Linked DNA regions of Homo sapiens: all the other regions are linked to region 1. Evidence: promoter capture Hi-C in 16 types of primary human blood cells and fetal thymus (Javierre and others, 2016). All regions are on one chromosome and are shown on one strand. Each heading gives the region's core, a stretch centred on a gene start or on the middle of the fragment in contact. The rest is flanking DNA. Distances are from core to core; before and after follow the strand shown.

The links. Contacts are between HindIII fragments. The CHiCAGO score rates a contact against its expected background, and 5 or more counts as called.
Region 2: a contact is called between a fragment that was not itself captured here and the fragment with the promoter of SATB1-AS1 in region 1, in 1 of 17 cell types (activated CD4 T cells). The highest score is 5.1, in activated CD4 T cells.
Region 3: a fragment that was not itself captured here is called in contact with the fragment with the promoter of SATB1-AS1 in region 1 in 6 of 17 cell types (activated CD4 T cells, naive CD4 T cells, non-activated CD4 T cells and 3 more); the score reaches 11.3 in activated CD4 T cells.
Region 4: a contact is called between a fragment that was not itself captured here and the fragment with the promoter of SATB1-AS1 in region 1, in 3 of 17 cell types (activated CD4 T cells, naive CD4 T cells and total CD4 T cells). The highest score is 7.9, in activated CD4 T cells.
Region 5: a contact is called between a fragment that was not itself captured here and the fragment with the promoter of SATB1-AS1 in region 1, in 7 of 17 cell types (activated CD4 T cells, naive CD4 T cells, total CD4 T cells and 4 more). The highest score is 14.3, in activated CD4 T cells.
Region 6: a fragment that was not itself captured here is called in contact with the fragment with the promoter of SATB1-AS1 in region 1 in 2 of 17 cell types (activated CD4 T cells and total CD4 T cells); the score reaches 8.2 in activated CD4 T cells.
Region 7: a contact is called between a fragment that was not itself captured here and the fragment with the promoter of SATB1-AS1 in region 1, in 1 of 17 cell types (activated CD4 T cells). The highest score is 6.4, in activated CD4 T cells.

The regions. Positions count from the first base shown.
Region 1 is chr3:18,443,643-18,446,592 of GRCh38, forward strand. SATB1-AS1 (SATB1 antisense RNA 1) reads left to right here and starts at 1,595. Exons shown (of 7, transcript NR_125803.1): 1 at 1,595-1,800. It also overlaps a transcript of SATB1 not described here. RefSeq lists a silencer at 1,501-1,720. The HindIII fragment of the contact is 8,267 bases long and covers 1-2,950 here.
Region 2 is chr3:18,587,931-18,590,729 of GRCh38, forward strand. No RefSeq gene overlaps it. Among named protein-coding and RNA genes, the nearest start is that of SATB1-AS1, 140 kb to the left of the region's middle. The HindIII fragment of the contact is 1,375 bases long and covers 572-1,946 here.
Region 3 is chr3:18,655,606-18,658,714 of GRCh38, forward strand. No RefSeq gene overlaps it. Among named protein-coding and RNA genes, the nearest start is that of SATB1-AS1, 210 kb to the left of the region's middle. The HindIII fragment of the contact is 3,888 bases long and covers 1-3,109 here.
Region 4 is chr3:18,695,469-18,698,715 of GRCh38, forward strand. No RefSeq gene overlaps it. Among named protein-coding and RNA genes, the nearest start is that of SATB1-AS1, 250 kb to the left of the region's middle. The HindIII fragment of the contact is 2,735 bases long and covers 1-2,651 here.
Region 5 is chr3:18,675,411-18,678,243 of GRCh38, forward strand. No RefSeq gene overlaps it. Among named protein-coding and RNA genes, the nearest start is that of SATB1-AS1, 230 kb to the left of the region's middle. The HindIII fragment of the contact is 4,732 bases long and covers 1-2,833 here.
Region 6 is chr3:18,638,945-18,641,839 of GRCh38, forward strand. No RefSeq gene overlaps it. Among named protein-coding and RNA genes, the nearest start is that of SATB1-AS1, 200 kb to the left of the region's middle. The HindIII fragment of the contact is 2,383 bases long and covers 263-2,645 here.
Region 7 is chr3:18,614,399-18,617,582 of GRCh38, forward strand. No RefSeq gene overlaps it. Among named protein-coding and RNA genes, the nearest start is that of SATB1-AS1, 170 kb to the left of the region's middle. The HindIII fragment of the contact is 5,486 bases long and covers 1-3,184 here.

The DNA of each region.
Region 1 (2,950 bases), core at 345-2,844:
CACTCCCCGGACCTGCCACCTGCCTGCTTCGTCCTTCTCGTCGTGGTTTCCCAAACCCCGGTTCTGCCGGCCCGGGAGCCTTAGCACTGGAGCAATAGGAAAAGGCCACCGCGCTCGGGTCTGGACAGCAGGAGGGAAACACGGTGTGGACTGCGAGGCTGCACCTGTGATGTCCCGGCCCCTGCTAAGAGGACGGCCCTTTCTTCTGCCTCTTGCCCAACTCCAAACCCACATTCACGCCAGCAGCCTCTCCAGGACCGGCCTCGCTACAGCCAGCGAGGGCTCGAAATGAGGAGTGCCGCGGCTTTCAAACTCCGGGCTCCAACTTGAGCGCCCCGGCGCCCGAGTAGCTCCCGGGATGCAGAAGTTGCCACAAACTTCCCAGGCCCCTCTTCGCCGATGCTTACAATCAGCCGCGCAGGCAGGGAGCGGAGGGAGGCGGAGATGGACCGGGAAAGGATGCTGAGCAGACTCGCGATCCGGTGGGGGAACATTACCACTCCCGCAGCCCACTCCTCCAGGCACCTTACTGCCCGCCCGGCTCCAGAACGCACCGAGAGGCTCCCCTTTTCCCCATTTGCTTCCTTCGGTCTTTTCCACTCCCCTTTCCTTTTCTAAAAGGGGCCATACCGGTGACCTGAAGGAGTTTGTTCAGCCAGGGTCTATTGGGCAGGTGTGGTGGTGTGTCCACACCCAGACAGAAAACGAATGGCATCTTCAAATCCCCCATCCCGACCGCTCTCCCCTACTCTACCAGCCCACCCCTCCAAGGTCCGTCTGCGTGAGAAAAGGGGCTCGGAAGACCGTTGAAGCCCTGCGCCCACGAGAGGGGAGCCCAGCCGCCCCAATAGGGGACGAGGAGTGGGTGCTACGGAGAAGTTTGGATTGATTCCGGAAAAAGAGGGACAGAGATAAAACAGCAAGAGTAGCAAGGGGAAAAGGGAGGCAAAAGAGCAGAACTCACTCAGGCATGGACGTTGGGGGCGGCGGTGGCTGTCGAGTGCGGGCCTGAAACCAAGAACGGCTCCCCGGGCGGGCGCGCCGGCGTCGGACTTCCGAGGCGGCGGCTTCTGCCTCTCCTGCCGCCGCCGCCGCCGCCGGAGCTGCGGCTGCCGCGGAAGTTAATTGCAACTTGACTTCAAGTTGTCCTCTTTCCCCATACGAAGTGGGCGTTTAAAGGGGAGAGCGAGGCGAGGAGCGAGCGAGCGAGCGCGCGGGGCCAAGGGAAGGAAGAGAAGGAGGGGGAGGGAGGAGATGTTAACGGGCGGGGGGGGGAGAAGGGGGAGGGGGCGGCGGCGGGGGCGGGAGGGGGAAGGGGCCGGCGGGAGCTGCTCTCGTCTCGTCGGTCGCGGCGCCTGCAGTCTGGAGGCGCACCGGAGCGGCCGGGGCGTCCCCCGCGGGAGCCCGCAGCCACCCGGGACGCGCATCCAGACGTGGCGCTTCGGACCGGGCACGCTGCGCCCGGGGGCTCGGCGGACCCCGCGTAGCCGCCGCTTCGGAGCTTGTGCGGCGCGGGCTGGCCAGCGGGGCGGCCAGGGCCCGGCCCGCCTCCCCAGCGCCCGCCCGGCTTCTCCCCCTGGCGGTGGGAGCCTCGGCGGCCGCTGGCGACACTAGGCGCACTGAAGCCCGAGCCGAGCCGAGCCCGAGCCGCCGCCGCCGCCGCCGCTGCTGCGCACCGCTCCCGGGCTCCCTCCCAGCGCGCCGGCCGGGGTGTGGGGGGCGGCGGGCCGGAGGGGCGAGGGCGGGCCAGGGGGCGCACACGGGGGTTGGCGCGGAAGACAGGACCCTCAGCCTCGAGGGGTAAGTGTGGGCGCTTGGGGGTGCGCTTGGGGTGCGCGGCGCGGTTCTCGTCGCCCGCCAACCCTGCCCCCTCACCTCTCCGGGGGCCCCCAACACGCGCACTCCTCCTCTTGTCGCCTGCGGCTTCCTCTTGTTGCTTGTTGTTTGGCTGGGTTTTGGGGGGTGAGTAGAGGGGGTTACTGTAGTGTGTGTGCAGGCGGAGGAGGAAGTCAGGTGAGAGGCCGCGAAGCACCCCCACCCCAACCCAGCCTGCGTGGGGTGTATGCTTCCCCACTAGGGGCATTTGGGCCATTTTTTTTTTCTCCGTCAATGTTCGGTCGAGACGATGTTTCCTAGAGGGCCTCCTTCACTTACAGTCTGGTCTGTCCATCTCCCTTCATCCCACCCTCGTCCGTCTTAGCCCCTTGTCCAGGAGCCCTGCACCCCAAGTGAGGAGCACGTGGCGGAAGGAGGAGGAGGCCCTCTCTTGAAGACCCCCACGCTGTGACCCAGCCCATTAGTTTAAATATTTATCCTCACATCACCAGCTGTACTTTTCAACCCACTGGAACAAGACGCCTAGGCAAGGTCCAATTTCCCCAAAAAGCTGGGGGCAAAGCGGGAGAGATGAGGGTTTTATTGACATTGGGAGAGAAGGGGCCAAGGAACCTTCCCAAGTGGAGACTGAAACTCAAAAAATCTCTACAAAAAGACTAGGGTGACTGGAGGCTCAGGACTGCAGGCTTAGGAGAAACTGGAGCTCCATCAACTTTATTTCTCTCCCCCTGCCTCTCCTCCCCCCAGCTCTGAGGAAGCTAACAGGTCTTTTGTTTTGTATTGTGTAGCCTTTGGGAAATTTGCATTGAGTATGTCAACAGAAAATTACTACTGTTTACTCAAAGGGATTGCAGAAAGATAAAACATAGTAACATAGTTTTTACTTTTCCTCTTCTTTGTACGCTTGTGTGTATTTGGCAAGAAGTGTAGTTAGGTTCATGGCATGAACTGCAAAACGTCAGGTTGTAACAATAAGGACTGTAGAGCTGCCTAGGTGTATTTTTAGAAGCCGCACTTTCTTGAATTCCTTTCACACAAGGCTTGCTCTCTCATTAAGTCCCCATAAATAATTTTATTTAGAGAGGAGGAAACTATGGAAGCAGGAGGGAGATTG
Region 2 (2,799 bases), core at 9-2,508, 140 kb after region 1:
ACCCTAATTACTTCATTTTAACTTGATTATCTCTATGAATACCCAACTCCCAAATGGGGTCATATTCTGAAATACTAGGGGCTAGGACTTATGACATCATTTTTTTTGGAGGGGGATATAATTCAACCTATAGCAGGAGGATTTTGTCATACAGAATTATTATTTGTATTTAATTGAAATTAAATATCTCAATTTTCTGTCCTATTAAAAGGAAATTTCCTACTCCTTTCCCTTAGAATTTTACTGTTCAGAGGGGATTAAAATCACCGTTCTATCATCACATACAAGGTGTCATTAGGATGTCATTAGGATGGTTTCCCCATCCACTCTCACCCTCATGCCAGGAGGTAACGTATACATCAGGTTGACTCCTGAACCCACATGGTTTAGCCACATGAGTGGCACAGCCATCTAGAACTGGAAGGAACACTAAAGGTAACTTAGTAGGGCATCTTTACTTTACTAATAAAGAAATCCAGGTCCAAGAGGTTAAAATAGTTTGCCTCAGAGTGCTCAGCTAATTAAGGGTTGAAGTGGGATCAAAGTCACGTCATTCAACTATGAATATAGAAGCTTTTCAGTGTATTTTTGTTTCCACATATTCACATCCAAAAATAAATATTCTAAAAACTTTAGAAAAAAAAAGTTCAAATACACAGCACATGTATTCCCTCTCCAATGTTTACGACAAAGGTAAAAGCCTTAAAAATGCTCGCAGGTGCCATACAGATGATGGAAGTGAAGTAAGAAGGCAGGGTATCAGTAATAGAGAGTTCAGCAAACTGAAGAGCACAAGCCCTTCCCATGAAAGGGATGGAAGGCAGTAACCATTTCTCAGCCCAGCGGCTTACTGCCCTGTGGAATTACATGCTCACTTTTCCAGATCTTCTGATATCTAAAGGAAACCTAATGATCTGGATTTTATTTAGAATACTCAAATTTTAAGTGTGTTGTAAAAAATATACAAATTCAAAGAAGCACTGTATAGTCAGAATTTTTCAGGGGGCTTGCCCGGTTTGAAACCTATTTCATATCTTCTCCTCTTTTCTTACTTTTCCAATAATCCCTTTACTCCTTGGATGGTTGCTAGGTTTAGGAACAAAAAGGCATTCCTCAGGAACAAACGTAATCACCTTTGGCAATACGTATTTAAGGCTTTCTGTTGGATTTCCTCAAGCGTTCTTTCAAGGCTTTTCACTCTCCTAGTACATATGCTGTTGTTCATTTTCAAGGTTGGTATGTAATAGTAGTAAAGTTGGTGTAGTTAGTAATTAATGGGTCTAAATTATCTGTCGTCTTAGTATTTGAATGTCAAAAAGGTTTTATGAGAAGGATATACATTTTTCAGTTTGGGGTTAAAAATTCCACTTCTTTGAGATAAGCATCGACTTCAAGTGTTTTAGGGCATGGAGGCCATCTAACGTTTAGTGCTATATAGTGTGTACAGGTGGCTTATCATAAAATGGTAACAATGCTGGCTCAAACTTAATGTACTTACCCTTTTCTTAATTCTCCAGGCAGGGTATTTTTTTTTCTTTTAATCTCTAATTTCACTCACCAAGACTGAGTGTTAAATCTATTTTTTTTTTCTTCGAAGAAGAGGTCAATCACTCAAACCACCACAAAAGCCTATCTGTTTTACATTTATTCAATGACTCCTTTACTTCCATTCGATTTTCTACCTGTATAAAGTTATCCTCTTTGGTTTGTCTGTTAGCATTATGAAGGTGGCATGTGTGTATTTTCTATTATAGAAGGAGTGACTTTTGGCCTTTGGGGCACTTGACCTAAAGGTATTATTCCTTAGACAACTTACAATGGCTTCTTTTCCTTTCTTTCTTTTTCCCTTATTAGGCACGCAGGCACTCTGGTGGTGTTTTTCATTCTTCACAGCGCAGAAATTGTGTGAAAGACAATAGGCTTGTTTCTAATTTGGTGTTTCCGAAAGCTTGGCAAAATAGAAATAAGACTGTATTCAAAAGTTGAAAAAGAGCATGTAAATAGCAATAACTGAAATTTGTGATTAAACAATTAACAAAAAAGAACCCTATGAAGTCATTAAAAGTATAAAGAGGGAGGCACTTCCTGCTTTATCATTACTGGGTTGAGCTGTTATTATTTAACACTGATTGAGCACCAGCCACGTGGGAGCCATTCTGTGAACAGCAGAGTTGGAAACAGTCACTTTCCAGTGGCATTCTCTCTGGAGCCAGCAACAAAACCTGAAAAAGTTTTAGATAGCACTTTATAAAGATAGGGAATCAAGGGAAGGGAATATAGACAACCTGAGTATTGGGACTATAGCAGAGAAAAATGGGCTTTGGAGCAAAACAAATACACAAGCAAATAATAAATTTGAGTTTGAATCTTGTCTTCCCTCTAGTTATTGCCAGAACCTTGAACAAACTATTTAATTTTTCCTAATCTTAGTGCCTTCATCTTTAAAATGGGAGTGAAGTATACCTCTTACAGTTTTCATGGGATATAATGATCACAGAAAGTCTAAGAACATTCTAAATCCTCAGTAAAAGATAGTCATTTTATTATGATTATTGTTACTAGCTGTCTTCATTTATAACCATCTCATTGTTTTATAATATTGGTGAATTCTAAGAATATTTAAATGTCATAAAGAATTTGAAAAAGAGGAATTTAAAGAGATCAGGGAGAAGTGTACCAGTCAGTTAGGATTATGTTATTTCATTTGGCTTTAAGCCAAGCAAATATTCAACTGCCAGTTAAAAATGTACCACCTGCCTTCGCCCTCTCTTTAATATATTCTTTAAAGTAGTATGGTGG
Region 3 (3,109 bases), core at 86-2,585, 210 kb after region 1:
TGAATAAGAAATTGGGTTCCATATAAGAAATAAACTCTCCCAGTAACTCTCGGCTCTCTTTGTATTGGACAGAATTGTGTTGTATGGACACAACTAGCAGCAAGGGAGCTTGGGGAAGAGAATTCTGTGGTATGTGCAATATAAACTTCTTCCATTTATGCTATTACATCTTTGGTAAAATCCACATTGTGTCTTTAGAACTGTACTGCACAGTATAGCAGTCAATAGTCACATGTGGCAATTTAAATTTAAATTCATTAAAAATTGAATAAACTTAACACATTATTTATCCCATAGCACTCGCCCCATGTGGCAGGTGGCTACCATATAGGACAGTGCTGATGTAGAGCATTTCCATCATCACAAAAAGTCCTGCTGGACAGCACTCTTTAGCTAAAGCTGAGGATTTGCAGAATCTTGCATAAGAGTTGGTAGAAGTAGAAAACATTACATAAAAGACAGCTGAAATTCTTGGCAATGGCAAAGGCTCCAACTGCTGATGATATTGGAGGAGGGTGGCTGAGGAACCAGGATAGGGACTGGATTTCAGAATATTTGCTGTTAGTTGGTGGCAGAAGCAAAGCCAGTAAAACCTTTTCACAAGGAAGATCTCTGGCCTTCCTTCAAAACATCTGAGATTGCCGTCCAGATTTGGAAAACTGAGTCAAGTATAGCCCCTTTTCTCACAGTATTGACAGTTAGGGAGTATCTCCCTTCTCTGAAATGATCATGAAGAATGTATTTTGGATTTAATTTTTTCCTACAGCTAGCTCAGTCCGGTTTTTAGAAGCTCCTGGAAGCTGAGGGGTGGAGACATGGTGGTCTGATTCCCAAGAATTTAGCAGCATTATTTGTCTAAGCATTAGGGGGAATTATTCAGCTAAGTCCCAACGACTTGACGGCAAGTTTACCTCTGAGAGTGTATTTCCCCTTCCTTCATCACTTCAGTCTCATTACTTACACCACATCTTCTGCTTGAATCCCACAAGATGCTCATCTGTCCAAAGGCTTATGATGTGGCCTCACTCTGAATGGCTTCAATTTGAACTTTGCTTTGAACTTGCTAGCTTTACTCCTCCTGCTTTTCCTGGGCCACATGTACAGTTAAATCACATGCTTATTTCTGACACTTGGAGCTGAACTAATGCCATGAAAACCATGTGACATTGGTTTTCCACTCCTGGTTCTTTTTGAAATGGCAGTCTATTTCATATCTGGGAATCAGTGGTAGGGACTCTGCTAGGAGAGTGGCTCTTCTGATAAAATGCTATGTATGGTACCACAGCTGAAAGTTTTCCTCTCCCAGCTCTGGTTAAAATTAATTATACTTATTGCTTCCCTTCTCATTTATCTTTATGTCTAGAAAGTGATAGAAAGTTTTGATCTTCCTTTTGTGGTTCCAGGGCAGTCACAGTTACCAGTAATTAAAGACACAGGGCCCGTCGTAGTCATGAAATCAGAATTGAATTGTGAACCTAGTGAACGGGGACCACTTGCCTCTGCATGAGGCTTTTATAACTTTTTCTCTACAGTAGGGACCCAGTTGGCACCCAGTAAGTAATAAATAATAATGATAAGTAGTCTCGCCTTGTGCTTTCCAGAACGGTGCCTTGCTTTTTCTAATTTTGTAAAATGGCTTCCTGATGAAGTGGAATGTCCATGTCACGATTGTGGAAAATATGGATTGGTATTCAATGAAATATTAATGATTATCCACTTACTGGGGCTTTCCTTTGTGAAGACTGAAATAAAAAAGGAGCTAGATTTCTTGATAATGAGTTAAAACATGATTGCTTCAGTATTAACTGTGGCTGAAACATGCCTTTTTTTCCCCCTCTTATTCTACCTCATTCTGTCTCTCTTCTGAGTGCCCTCATTTTGGGTATTTTTATTCTTTACTAAGAGCTTCAGACAGATAATGACATGGTTTGAATGGGCAGGGTATATGATGCTAGAATGTACCAGAAATCAGTCTTGCCTCCATCATATTGCAATTTTTAAATTTAACATTAAGAGAACTATTTAACTGTAAAATGGGAATAATGATACCTAGTTCATAGCTTTGTGGTGAGGATTAACGAAAAAGTAGCTATGAAGTGCGCTAATGTCTGGCACATAGTAAGACCTCAAGATAGCTTGCTTTAGCCATTCTACAACGTACACATACTTTAAAATAACTTGTTGTACATGAAAAACATATACAATTTTTAATCGTCATTTTAAAAAAGTACCTCAAGAAATGCTAATTTTTATCATTTGGTGGTAGTGGTGCAGAGGAAGACAGAAGGCAGGTAAAATCCCAATCTGCCCATTTGCTTGTTAGTCGCTTGGATGAGAGATGTGGTGGAGCAGCTTGTCACAAGGAGCGGCTGTCATGAGATTTGGGGATTATCTGTGGGTTTCTGCTTCCTGCCCTCTTCTGCTTCCTGATACCATTTGAGAGTGGTTCTGCTGACTTTGAGCATGCTCTGGAGCTTCCTCCACACCTTTGATGATGCTGTCAGGATTAGCAAGAGTCACTCAGTCTTTCAAGACCCACTAAAAGAAGAGATGCCTCTGAGTTCTGGAAGGAATGGGTGTTGGCTTTGGAAGGGGTTCAGACTCTGGGAATTCACTGTGCTGTGCTTTTCTTTCTCAGCAACTGCCACCTGCAGCCACCAGTGTGGGCTCCCACTGGTACTCCCTACTCCCCACCCCCTCCTTGGGCTGTCTGCAGCCTTATCTGGAGAGTCAGAGAAGGCTGAGGTGAGATGAAGCGATAAGCAGGAAGTGCAGTGGAATTTCATTCCTGGAAAAAAAAAAAGGGACCTTGGCATGAGTAGCAGAATGGAGGGTTTGGGATGTTAATCACTGCTCCTTTTATCAGACAGCTTTATTAAGATCAATGTTTTTTGTTGCCAAATTAGAGTGGACCTAGAGCGAACTTCCCAGCAGTTATTAACACAAGTCCACATTTGCTGGAAGGATTGGGTATCTCCACGTGCTCAGCCATAGCTGGAAGTTACACAATATCTATATCATTTTTCACAGCTTTGTCATTAGCTGGTAATGATTTGATTATTTTGCAGATGAATCACAGTATAAATCTCTTTCACAAACACTACCTCCA
Region 4 (3,247 bases), core at 34-2,533, 250 kb after region 1:
TAAGATCAAGGGTAAAGCAGCCACATAATGTTTTAGATGGTACCATGCGTGGATAGTACAATTTGATTCCATTTGTCCTCTATATTTTCTTCTTTTCAGTTCTTAAGATCTGCTATGAAAAATAGATAAGGATTTTGAAGTTATCCATGGACTTTTGGAGGTAATATCTAGTAAAATTTTTGTATGGTTGCATTTTTGGGAGATGCCATTAACTGTGATTGGGAGAAAGGCTAAGGAAAGACTTACAGGAAAATGATGGTGATGGTAGTGGGCAATCAGAAAAGGAAAAGTTTGAGTGTCATTGACTTAGGTGTTGTCAACTTGATTACTCTACAGTAGAAATCAACCAGTATTCTACCAGGATATGTCTACCTTATCTTTGTCAAAAATTGATTCATCACATTTCAAAATCAAATGGCTTGTCATCTGGAGATCTCAGTACAAATAGAGCTCCTGTTTCTGATGAGACTTTTCTGTTTTTAAATGGCTGTGTTACTAACAACCTTCTCATAATCTAATAATATTAGTCAGTACCTAACATAGGTCTGGAATTGTTTCAGAATCTTTGCTGATTGCATAGCAAAGAAAATACAGGACTTATCCTTATTTCAACATTAGCAAAAAGATTTTTTTTTAAATTAAGATTTTTCCATTGTGGTAGGACAGAAGCAAAAGTCTTTATAACTAGTATGAATAGACACTTTTGTTAGCTGAGTCTATTCAATACTGATACAGAAATTATTGGTAAATTCAGATTAGGAAACTGAAGATACAATCAAAATTAAAGGAGAAAATATGAGAGAGAGAGAGAAAAAAATGTGTGTGAGAGAGAGGTAATCAGACCCTTCCATGGCTATAAACTACTTAAAAAGGAATTGTTTCCCCCAGTTCTGGAATTTACCACTTCTTACCTTGTAAAATAGCCCCTTCTGTTATCTTCTCTCCAGAATCTCCTTTTATCTTTCCTCCCTCTCAGCATTGAAATAAGCTCAAGCCTCTTCCATATTAAAGATATATAAGCAAACAAACAAGCAAAACTATGTCACTTGACCTTAAATTCTCTTCTATTTCATGCTTGATCTTTCCTACAATTTATTTTAAATGAGTATATCCTTATTGTCTTACTTCTTATTTGCATGTCTATCCACAGTGATCAGCTTCCCACCTCTACCACCACATTAAAGTCCTCTGCCACCAAGGCCACCAAATGGTGTTCCTAAATCCAGTGGACTCATGGCTCTGTCTTGATCTTGCTTCACTCTCCTCTTCTCTAAGTCATGCTGGATATGCCCTTTTCAAAGACCTGATGACAATCCCACTCCTGCACTAAATATTTTCAAAGTGGTTCCATTCAAGGGAGCAATTTCTTATGTTCCTAGCTTTCTCAGACTCGATTTCTTGTCACTGCAAGCAGAAAAGAACCTCTTAGTGTAGTTTCCTCATAGTCAGCATTGAGGCCACTGAATCAGGTGGCAGTTTTTAAATTGCTGCTCAAATTTTCTTTGTTACATTTACATATAATTTTTAAAGATAAACCATAAAGCTCATAACAAAAGCCAACAGTCTTTTATCTCATCTCTACCCATACACCTGCTCTCAAAGGCAACTACTTTCACCCCTTAATCATTATTTTACATTTAATTCCATATTTTCAGATAACATGTTTATACATATATTTACTGATTTTTCAATTTTAGACATTTTTTACTGAGTTTATACTGTGATAGATGAGGATTTATGTCCTGTACTTCCTTTCTCCCTTATAGAGGTATCAAATCAATGTTCATCATTATTTACATTTTAGTGTTTTTCTAAATATTCTTCACTACAAGATCAAAAGGTATCACATAATTCAATTTTCTTTCATCAGGTTTATTTTCTCAAGCAAATAATTGTATAATATGCTTGCATTCTTGCTTTGCTTGTACCTATCAGTAATTCTTTTTCAACATGCCAATGAAAATGTACAACTACTCTCAGTACTTTTTTCCATTAGTTAAATGAATCAGGTGTTTGTATCTATTTTTAATTTTTTAAAAATTTTCTTACTGTGTTTGTATAGTATTTGGCTCTCTCTGGGAACCTTTCATCATGTTTCTCTAATTCTGATATGTTTTTCTTTAGGACAAACACACTTATCCTGGGACTTCCCTTCACTCTCATCCAATGAAAATTTTTTTCTCTCTTGAGTGTGACGCTCTGTTTTAGATGTAGCACTATTTTCAAGCGTTCTCTTGGTTTTGATGGAGAAGAAAATAGAGGAAGTATAAAGGAAATATAGAAAGTTTATTTTTTACAACTTTTTCTATTTCTGATGACATGCTTATTCTACTCTGAGACATGATTGATGATTGACAGAGCACAAAATTTATGTTAGGTTATTATTCTCCAGATTTTTAAAGGTATTGTTTCACTGTCTTTCTCCTTCCAGTATTGTTAATAAGAAGTCCAGAATCATCATGACTTTCAGTCTTTGATATGTGACTTGTTCTTTCTAGAACCTTATGGTGAGTACCTTGCTTTGGATCACTTTTCGTTCATTGCATTGGGTAGTGGGTAGGTGTTTTTACTCTGGTGCCTGGTAGGAGAAGGGAGCTAGTGGATGGATTTTGTGCCTATGGTTTATCTCAATCTCCTTATTTTTATTCTTAAGCTTCACCCCACAGGTTTTTGAATCTGGAAATTCTCAGTCTCAATTTTTTCACAGAGTAAATTTCTGGTCTCCTGCACAGTGTTCATCTGGTTATATGACGTGGGGAGAGAGGGACCAGGGATCTCACTGAATAGTATTGAGACTTTGGATCAGTTCTCTTATTTTCAGTTTTGTACTTCACCTTCCTTTCACCTATACCTCCAAATCTGAGTTTTCTTGGATTCTGCAAGGTAAAACTGTTTGCTCCTCTTTGGTATTCTCCTATACCTGAAGGATTCATTTTTCTTTTCTCTGCTAAATTAATAACAACTTGCTGTTGACTATCTGTACACCCCCAAAATTTATTTGAAGATATAGCCTCTAAGGAAGTAATTAAAATTAGAAGAAATCACAGGGTTAATCCAGTAGAATTGGTGTCCTTGTAAGAGGAGACACTAGAGAGCACACACACTTAGGAAAAACCATGTAAGGATGCAGTGAGAAAACCCCTACCTATAAGTTAGGAAGAGAGCCCTTACCAGAAACCAAATCTCCTAGAACCTTAATCTTGGACTTCTAGCCTCCTGAAATGTGAGAAAATAAATTTCTGTTGTT
Region 5 (2,833 bases), core at 43-2,542, 230 kb after region 1:
GACTAGTTCACTCTATTTCTAGCATTCTTTGGTTGCAAGTAGCTGTACCTGACTTCAAAAGGAAAAAAGGAGTGGAAGGAAATTCATTTTTAAGATGTGTGATAACTCACAGATATAAAGGAAGAGCTGAAGAACTGAGCCTTGAAATTGACAGAGGCCAGGGCAATGTAGATGTTATACACAAAATACTTAACAACAGGTACAGTGCAGATACTGACCAAATGGAATGGATACCTATGTGAAAAATGAGTACAGTCATAGCAGAGTATATTGACTCAAGATGAGCCCTGCATTTGGGAAGTTGGACCCAGTAGACTATCTCTTAAGGGAATTCTCATGGAAAGGAGACAGTGACAACTCTTCTTTCCTGTTGCCACTTCCTTTAAGATGAAGAGTTCATTATTTCAGCTTGGGTTTTTGCTTACAGCTTGTCAAGGAGAGGGCACGGCAACTAGATCTACATTCCACCAAATCTGTTGGCGATAATGGAAAGATAGTTTTCAAGGGAAAAATCAAGGTGCAACTATCAAAAAACTGAGATTGGACAAAACAAACACCACCAAATTCTATATAAACTTCAATAATTGTAATGGAAATTACTTGGTCCTTCCCATTTAGCTGAATCACCTACTGTCACCTGTATGGAACTCTTCTCCTTACTTAATCACATTATTTTTCCTCTTGATCTAACCTTTCTTCTAGTCTTTCCCTTCTTCTTCATTCCATAGTGTTCCAATTGTACTGTGAATTGAATAGATTTGAAGAGTGCTAGAAGTCTTAAGCTAAGGATATAAGCATCACTATGACATTATATCTCTGAGAAAATATGTTTTGTTTTATAAATAACAGAATGAGTTGTTTCAGGAAGATCATGTGTCTCTTGATGCAAAAGTGATAGCTCCAAAGAGGTTACAAAAAAACATGGTAATCTTCTTAGTATTTTTCCTTTAAATAGTGTGATTGTCTTGAATGTAGTGTAGAGATTTCCAAATCAGGGAAAGACTTTTCTTTCCAGTTGAGTTTTCCCATCCCTTTCAGGCATAGGCCAATCTTGTCACTTATATTCACAGGTACTTGTATGTTGGAAAGTATCAATACATAAATACTTTTTGATAGCCAGGGTTATTCAGTTTAAGAACTGGTACAGGCCGGCTGAGGTGGCTCATGCCTGTAATCCCAGCTTTTTGGGAGGCCGAGGCGGGCAGATTACGAGGTCAGGAGATCAAGACCATCCTGGCTAACACGGTGAAACCCCGTCTCTACTAAAAAATACAAAAAAAAAAAAAAAGTAGCCAGGTGTGGTGGCGGGTGCCTGTAGTCCCAGCTAATCAGGAGGCTGAGGCAGGAGAATGGCGTGAACCCAGGAGGCAGAGCTTGCAGTAAGCTGAGATAGCACCACTGCACTACAGCCTGGGTGACAGACAGAAACTCTGTCTAAAAAAAAAAAAAAAGGAACTGGTACATAGGGAATATAGATAACGCTAGCTGCCATGGGGCAAGCCTTTTTACAGGGGCTTAACATATATAATGTCAACACTGAATCATGCTTTAATTTCATCCACCTCAAAAAGCCTTCATTTGACTCTACTTTTCACAGAATTTATCATTCCTTTTTTTTTCATTTTCAGCAAAACTTCTTGATAAAGGCATCTATTCTTATTTTCTCAAAAATTTCTCTTATTATTGTTTTTTAAACTTGGCATAGTTAGGCATCCTCCACCCCCATCACCATTCCAGCAAAACTGCTCTTATCAAATTAACAATGATCTTTATGTATCCAAATCAGTTCTCAGTCCTTTTCTTCCTATACAACCTACTGGCAGCATTTGTAGTCACTGCTCCCTCCTTTCTTATAGATATGCTTTCTTGATTTGGCTTCCAGGGGTGTTCCCTTGAATTCTTTCCTCCTTCACTGGTTACTTATCTGTTCTCCTGATCTGTGGTCATCTTCTCTCTCTAGCTCTACTCACTTGCCTGTTGATTTTATCCAGTCCCATGGCTTTAGATATTTCTGAATGCTGATGACTCCAGAGTTGAAATACCCAATTCAGATATCTTTTTTGAGCCCTAGTCTCATAGATCCAATTGTACATTGGACATCTTTTCTTGAGTGTTTAATAGACCTCTGAAACTGGTTTTGCCTAACTTAGTTCCTAATCTCGCTGCCCTGAAACTTGCTCAACCCATAGTCTTCTTCATTCAAGCTAATGGCAATTCCATTCTTCCAGTTGCCCAGCCACAAAATCTAGAGATCTTCATTCTCTCCCCTATCTTTTACATGTAATATTCAATACATCAGGAAATCTTATGAGCTTTACTTTTAACTTAGATCTACATTTTTACAACTTCTCATCATTCTACCGTTTTTTGGTTGCTTTACTCCTCTTCCATATTCTGCCTCTAAACCAGTTGTTCCACTACTATCCTGTGTCCTCCCAGTTGAAAAAATTTCAATACAGCAGTCAAAGGATTTTCCAAAAGCATCAATTGGATTACATCACTGCCTTCTTAAAACTCTACAAAAGGGTCTCTGTTTCCTTCAGAATCAAAGTCCTCACAATGGCCTTTAAGGCCCTATGTTATCTGGTTCCTATCGCCCTTCTCACCTTTTCCCTACTAGTTTCTTCAATACTTATTTCCAGCCACACTGGCCTCCTTGCTGTTAGAGTTTTTACTTATCTGATCCTGATGCTTGTAATGCTCTTCCCCTCCTATTCCCACTTGACTGACTTACAGACCCTCCTCAGGATTTTGCACTAATCTCATGTCTCAGTGAGCCCCACCCTGATCATCACATTGCACACTGAAGCATGGTCTGCCTTCCTTTCAACTC
Region 6 (2,895 bases), core at 204-2,703, 200 kb after region 1:
AACTCTTCCTTAGTTCTAGGAACAATCTAGTACTTTTCTAATAAGTATTTCCCCTTCTTTACATTAGCTCACCAGCAATTACCCACTACCCAAAAGACCTTATGTGATTTATCATCCATGTCTTCCTGTTCCCCAATGATGGTGGCTGAAGGTTCAGAGGATTGGACAGCTAAGTACAAAGAAGTTGTTGGTCATATAGAACAAGTTATCCCATGATTTATAAAAGACAAACAAATTTTGCAGCAGCTCATTTCAATTTCCAAGCTTGGGGAAAATTAAGCCATATGTAGTGATTAACTAAGCAGGCTCTGGAGTTTGAATCTTGCTTCTGTCTTTTACCATGGGACCTAAGCTATTTAAGCTCTCTAGGTGCTTGGTTTCCTTATCTGACAAAAGGGAAATAATGTAGGTTTGTGAGGATTAAATGAAGAGTAGGACATAAAGCACTTAGCTTAATATGGTACTTATTAACAGCTCAGTAAATGTGGTGTTTTTTTGTTGTCTTATGTTATTATGAGATATTCCTTAAAACAGGTAGCATAAACATTGCTTTTTCCATTTTATATTTTCAAAAGTTGAGGCTGTAAAAGATTAAATGGTCAACATCACACAATGATAGAGCCAGGGTCATATTCCAACATTTTGATGTCGTTCACAAATATTTACTGAGTGTCTACAATGTACAGGCATACCTCAGAAATATTGTAGGTTCAGTTTTAGACCACAGAAATAAAATGAATATTGCCATTAAGTCACACAAGTTTTTTGGCTTCCCATACATATAAAAGTTATGTTTACTCTGTATTGTAGTCTGTTAAGTGTGCAATACCATTATGTCTAAAAAATCAATGTACATTCCTTAATTTAAAGTACTTTATTGTTAAAAAATGCTAATGATCATCTTATCCTTCAGCAAGTTGTAATCGTTTTGCTTATGGAGGGTCTTGCCTTAGTGTTGATGGCTTCTGACTAATCAGGGTGGTGTTAGCTGGAGTTTGGGTGACTGTCACAATTTCTTAAAATAAGAGAACAATAAAATGTGCTGCATCAATTGACTCTTCCTTTCATAAAAGATTTCTCTGTAGCATGCAATGCTGTTTGATAGCATTTAACCTACAGTAGAATTTCTTTCAAAATTAGAGTCAATCCTCTTAAACCATGCTGCTGCTTTATCTACTAAGTTTACATAATATTTTAAATCCTTTGCTTTCATTTCAACAATCTTCACAGGATCTTCACCAGGAGTAGATCCCATCTCAAGAAACCACTTTGTTTTCTCATCCATAAGAAGCATCTCCTCATCTATTTAAGTTTTATCATGAGATTGCAGCAATTCAGTCACATCTTCAGGCTCCACTTCTAATTCTAGTTCTCTTGCAATTTCCACACCATTTGCATGCAGTTATTTTTTCCACTGAAGTCTTGGTCTTGAACCCCTCCAAGTCATCCATGAGGACTGAAATAAACTTTTTCAAACTCCTGTGAATGTTGATATTTTGACTGCTTCTCCTGAATCACAAATGTTCTTAGTAGTACCTAGAATGGTGAGTCCTTTCCAGAAGTTTTTAATTTATTTTGCTCAGATGGATCAGGTGAACATTGTCTTTGGGACCTATTTAAACTTTATTATTGTCTTATTTTAAGAAATTGCAACAACCACCCCAAGGAACCCTACAAAATGTGTTTCTTCAATAATAAGACTTGAAAATTGAAATTACTTTTTGATCCATGGCCTGCAGAATGGAAGTTATGTTAGTAGGCATGGAAACCACATTAAAATCCTTCTACATCTTCACCAGAGCTCCTGGGTGACTAGCTGCATTGTCAATGAGCAGTACTATTTTGAAAAGAATCTTCCTTTTTCTGACCAGTAGTTCCCAACAGTGGGCTTAAAATATTCAGTAAACCATGCTGTAAACCAATGTGCTATCATAGAGGCTTTGTTGTTCCATTTATAGAGCACAGGTGAGCCTGTTTAGCATATTTCTTAAGTGCCTTATGATTTTAGGAATGGTAAATGAGCATTTGCTTCAACTTAAAATCACCAGTTGCATTAGGCCCTAACAAGAGAGCTAGCCTGTCTTCTGAAACTTCGAAGCCAGGCATTAAATTCTCCTCTTAAGCTATGAAAGTCCTAGATGGCAACTTCTGATAGAAGGCTGTTTCATCTGCTTTGAAAATCTGTTGTCTAATGCAGCCGTCTTCATTAATTATCTTAGCTACATCTTTTGGATAACATGCTGCAGCTTCTCCATCAGCACTTGCTGCTCCATCTTGTACTTTTATGTTATAGAGATGGCCTCTTTCCTTAAACTTTATGAACCAACCTCTGTCAGCTTTAAACTCTTCTGTAGCTTTCCCATCTCCCTCATCCTTAATAGAAATAAAGAGAGTTTGAATACTGCTTTGGATTAGGCTTTGGCCATTAAGGAAACGTGGCTGGCTTGATCTTCTATCCATATCACTAAAATATTCTCCAGATCAGCAGTAAGGCTGTTTTGCTTCTTATCATTCTTGTGTTCACTGGTATAGCACTTTTAATTTTCTTCAAGAATTTTTTCCTTACATTCACAACTTAGTTAACCTTGTGGCACAAGAGACCCAGCTTTTGGCCTCTCTTGGATTTCAACATACTTTCCTCACTAAGCTTGATCATTTTTAGCTTTTGACTTAAAGTGGAAGATGGGTAACTCTTCCTTTTACTTTAACACTTAAAGGCCATTATAGGATTATTGATTTGCCTAATTTCAATATTGTTGTGTCTCAGTGAATAGGGAGGCCCAAGGAGAGGGAAAGAGATGGTAGAACAGCTGGATGGTGGAGCAGTCAGAACACACACAACATATATAGTTTGTTTGCCATTGCATATGGACACAGTTCATGGCACCCTGAAAC
Region 7 (3,184 bases), core at 304-2,803, 170 kb after region 1:
AAAGGGATTTCATGCAGATAAAGTGAGATTATACCTTGGAAGCATAATGCTTTGCACAACTGTTCAAAAAATCTTAGATATTATTAATTACTCTTACGTATTCCTATATGAGCGAATTGTTCCTGAAAGCTCACTCAGGGCCTGTCAGGTCAGAAATGTACCCACTCTCCTAAGAGGCATTGTCATGTGTAAACTCAGTGCCCAGCCTTAGGGCATAATTCAATTTAACTCATTTCAATCCAACAAATATTTATAGAGTTCTTGTTCTGTGCTGGAGACCATGCTAAGTACTGGGAAAATATCTAAACATTTTTGGCTTTTATCATATTATCTATTGCTGCATAATTAGTTATCCCAAAACTCAGTGGCTCAAATATGCATTTATTATCTTACAGTTTCTGTGGGTCAGTAGGTCAGAAATTCAGGATCCACATTGCTGTTGGTACTTCTGACTCAGGGGCTCACGAGTTTTTGGTCAGACTTTCTACAGTCATCTGTAGGCTCAACTGAGGCTAGAAGACCCACTTCTAAGGTGGTTCACTGGTATTCCTGAGAAATTAGTGCTGTTTATTGGCCAGAAGCCTCATTTATGCCCCACATGATCTCTGAACAGGGGTGCTTAATTGTTCTCATGATAGGGAAACTGGCTTCTCCCAGAGCCAACAGAGAGCAGGAAGGGAGCCTCAATGCCCCGTATGAAGTAGCATCAGAAATCACACTCTGGGCTGGGCGCAGTGGCTCACACCTGTAATCCAGCACTTTGGGAGGCCAAGGCAGGCAGATCACCTGAGGTCAGGAATTCGAGACCAACCTGGCCAACATGGTGAAACCCCATCTCTACTAAAAATATAATAAATCAGCCGGGCATGGTAGCCCATGCCTGTAGTCCCAGCCACTCCGGAGGCTGAGGCAGGAGAATTGCTTGAGCCTGGGAGGTGGAGGTTGCAGTGAGCTGAGATTGCGCCACTGAACTCCAGCCTGGGCGACAGAGTGAGACTCTGTCTCAAAAAAAAAAAAAAAAAATCACACTGTCATTTTGACAACACTTCATTGGTTATAAACATTAGTTAGCCCTATTATTGTGTATCTGGTAGGGTAAGGGAAGGATAAAACTACATTAAAGTTATTCATATCAGAAGATGAAAATCAGTGAAGACTTATTGGAGGCTGGCTACTATATCATCAAACCAGAAGTTTAGGATGAGTGATATGTCTATATGTACTCAAAGATGGAAATGGATGAAACCAACAAATGAAGATACAGATCCAGCAGTGTGTGTGGGGAAGGTGATTCTACCTAATACGTAGATGCTTGTGTAAGAGGAATGATCTGATTTGGGCCTTGAAGAAAAAGTCAAGGATAGATATGGCTGGAATAGGAGCAAGATGAGGTGAGGAAAAACAGAGTACTCATGGAAGACAGTAAAAATTGTTTGAGCTCCAGACTACACCTGTGTACCTGGTCCTCATACTATGGTCCTGTACAAAATGTATAACCACACTTGCAATCCATGTGCATTGAAAAGGTGACTCCATCTGAATACCTTATGTTTCAGCAGTCATATGTAAAAAAGACATCAAGATTGGAAATGGGGCTTCCTATGAGAAAATGGTAAAGTTTCTGTTCTCTAAACCTTTATAGCTTTTATGGTTTGTACACCCATAAATAGGATGATCATTTACCCAGGTTTGACTAGGTTCCTAGTTTATGCTTGTTGTCCTTGTATGATTAATAGTGCCTCCTTTTATTCTCAGAAATGTCCTGGTACATTAAATTGTACGGTAACTTGAGCTACTAAGTAAGTGGGTGAGATAAGTTTTCTTGTTATAGATCTATGGCTCCAAGCATCCTGAGGATAGACTTTGAATTAACTTTCATGTATTTTCTAATACCTAGATGAAGACACTGGATAGAAGTGATAAATAAAGATATGTTATTGGTTGGAATTTTATAGTACATGGTGGATATTGCACATAAGTTTGAACATGTATGGTGTTAAAATACATTCCAGAAGTCAGTTGATATTATAAGCATCCATGGAGGGGAGGGAACAGAAAAAGAGTAGAAGGCCAGTAGTGAATGAGTTGCTTCATTGAGCATTTAAGGGGTTAAAGTAGTTCTTCAAGCTCTGGGTGTGAACTACACAGTGTCTTAATAATACCTCTAATACCTGTGCATTTATATGAGCAGAACAAGTGAAAACCTGCCTTGCAGAAATTAGATTAAACAGTTGAAGGAGACAGTCATTTTAATAAGGAGCTTCTATATAAAAACCCTTGATACTTCATTATCTATTTATTCCTCTCAGTCACTCAATTTTATTTTATCCTTCATAATTAAAAAGGAGACAAAACCAAGTCTTCAAAAAAAAAAAAAAAAAAAACGACCCAATGCCACTGTGTTTTGTGTAAACGGTATTGGTTGGATGTAGTTTGTTTGTCTACTTTTACTGTTGATTGCTATTTCTTTCTCTCCCTCGCCCCATCGTTATGCTTTCCTCCCATGAAGTCTTTTACAGCATCACAGGGGGTAGAAATATCTTGTGATACAGAGGCTATTAGTAGAGTTACTAGTAGAATTCTAATTACACATAGAGAATCATACCATTGCAACATTTCAAAGATGATACGGGCAATCTTAACATTTCTTTCTTTTTTATCTAGATAGCATTTATCACCTTCTGTACTCCCTTGGTACACCATCTTTATTGGTATCAGGAAGTATTAGCTACTCTGTCATTCTCTCATTCTCTCATAAATTGCCTGAACCAAGTTTTCATTTTAGGGCTCTGCTGTAAATTTCATTCAGTGCAAAATTTCTTGGAAAGCTGTGATAAATGTAGTGCAAGGGTGTTGATGTTAAGACTACACCTATCTTTCCTCTCCCCCCAAAAAGAAGATTGCATTTGTATACGTGCATGCATATTTTTCTTACACACATTAACTCATTAATGGAACTTAGACAAGTTCTGATGACAAACCTGAAACAATCAAGGCCACTTGGTTGAACACTGAAGTTTCTGGCATGTGTTTTTCCTACAAGTAAACTAAAGTGCAAGGCAACTAAACAGCTTTACTTATACAATTTTTCTTAGTATGAAATTATGAAGGTTAAGGTACTTATGAAAGTCTATGGCACTAAACCATTGTGGTTTAAATGTCAAGTTTGCCAAAAGTTAAACAT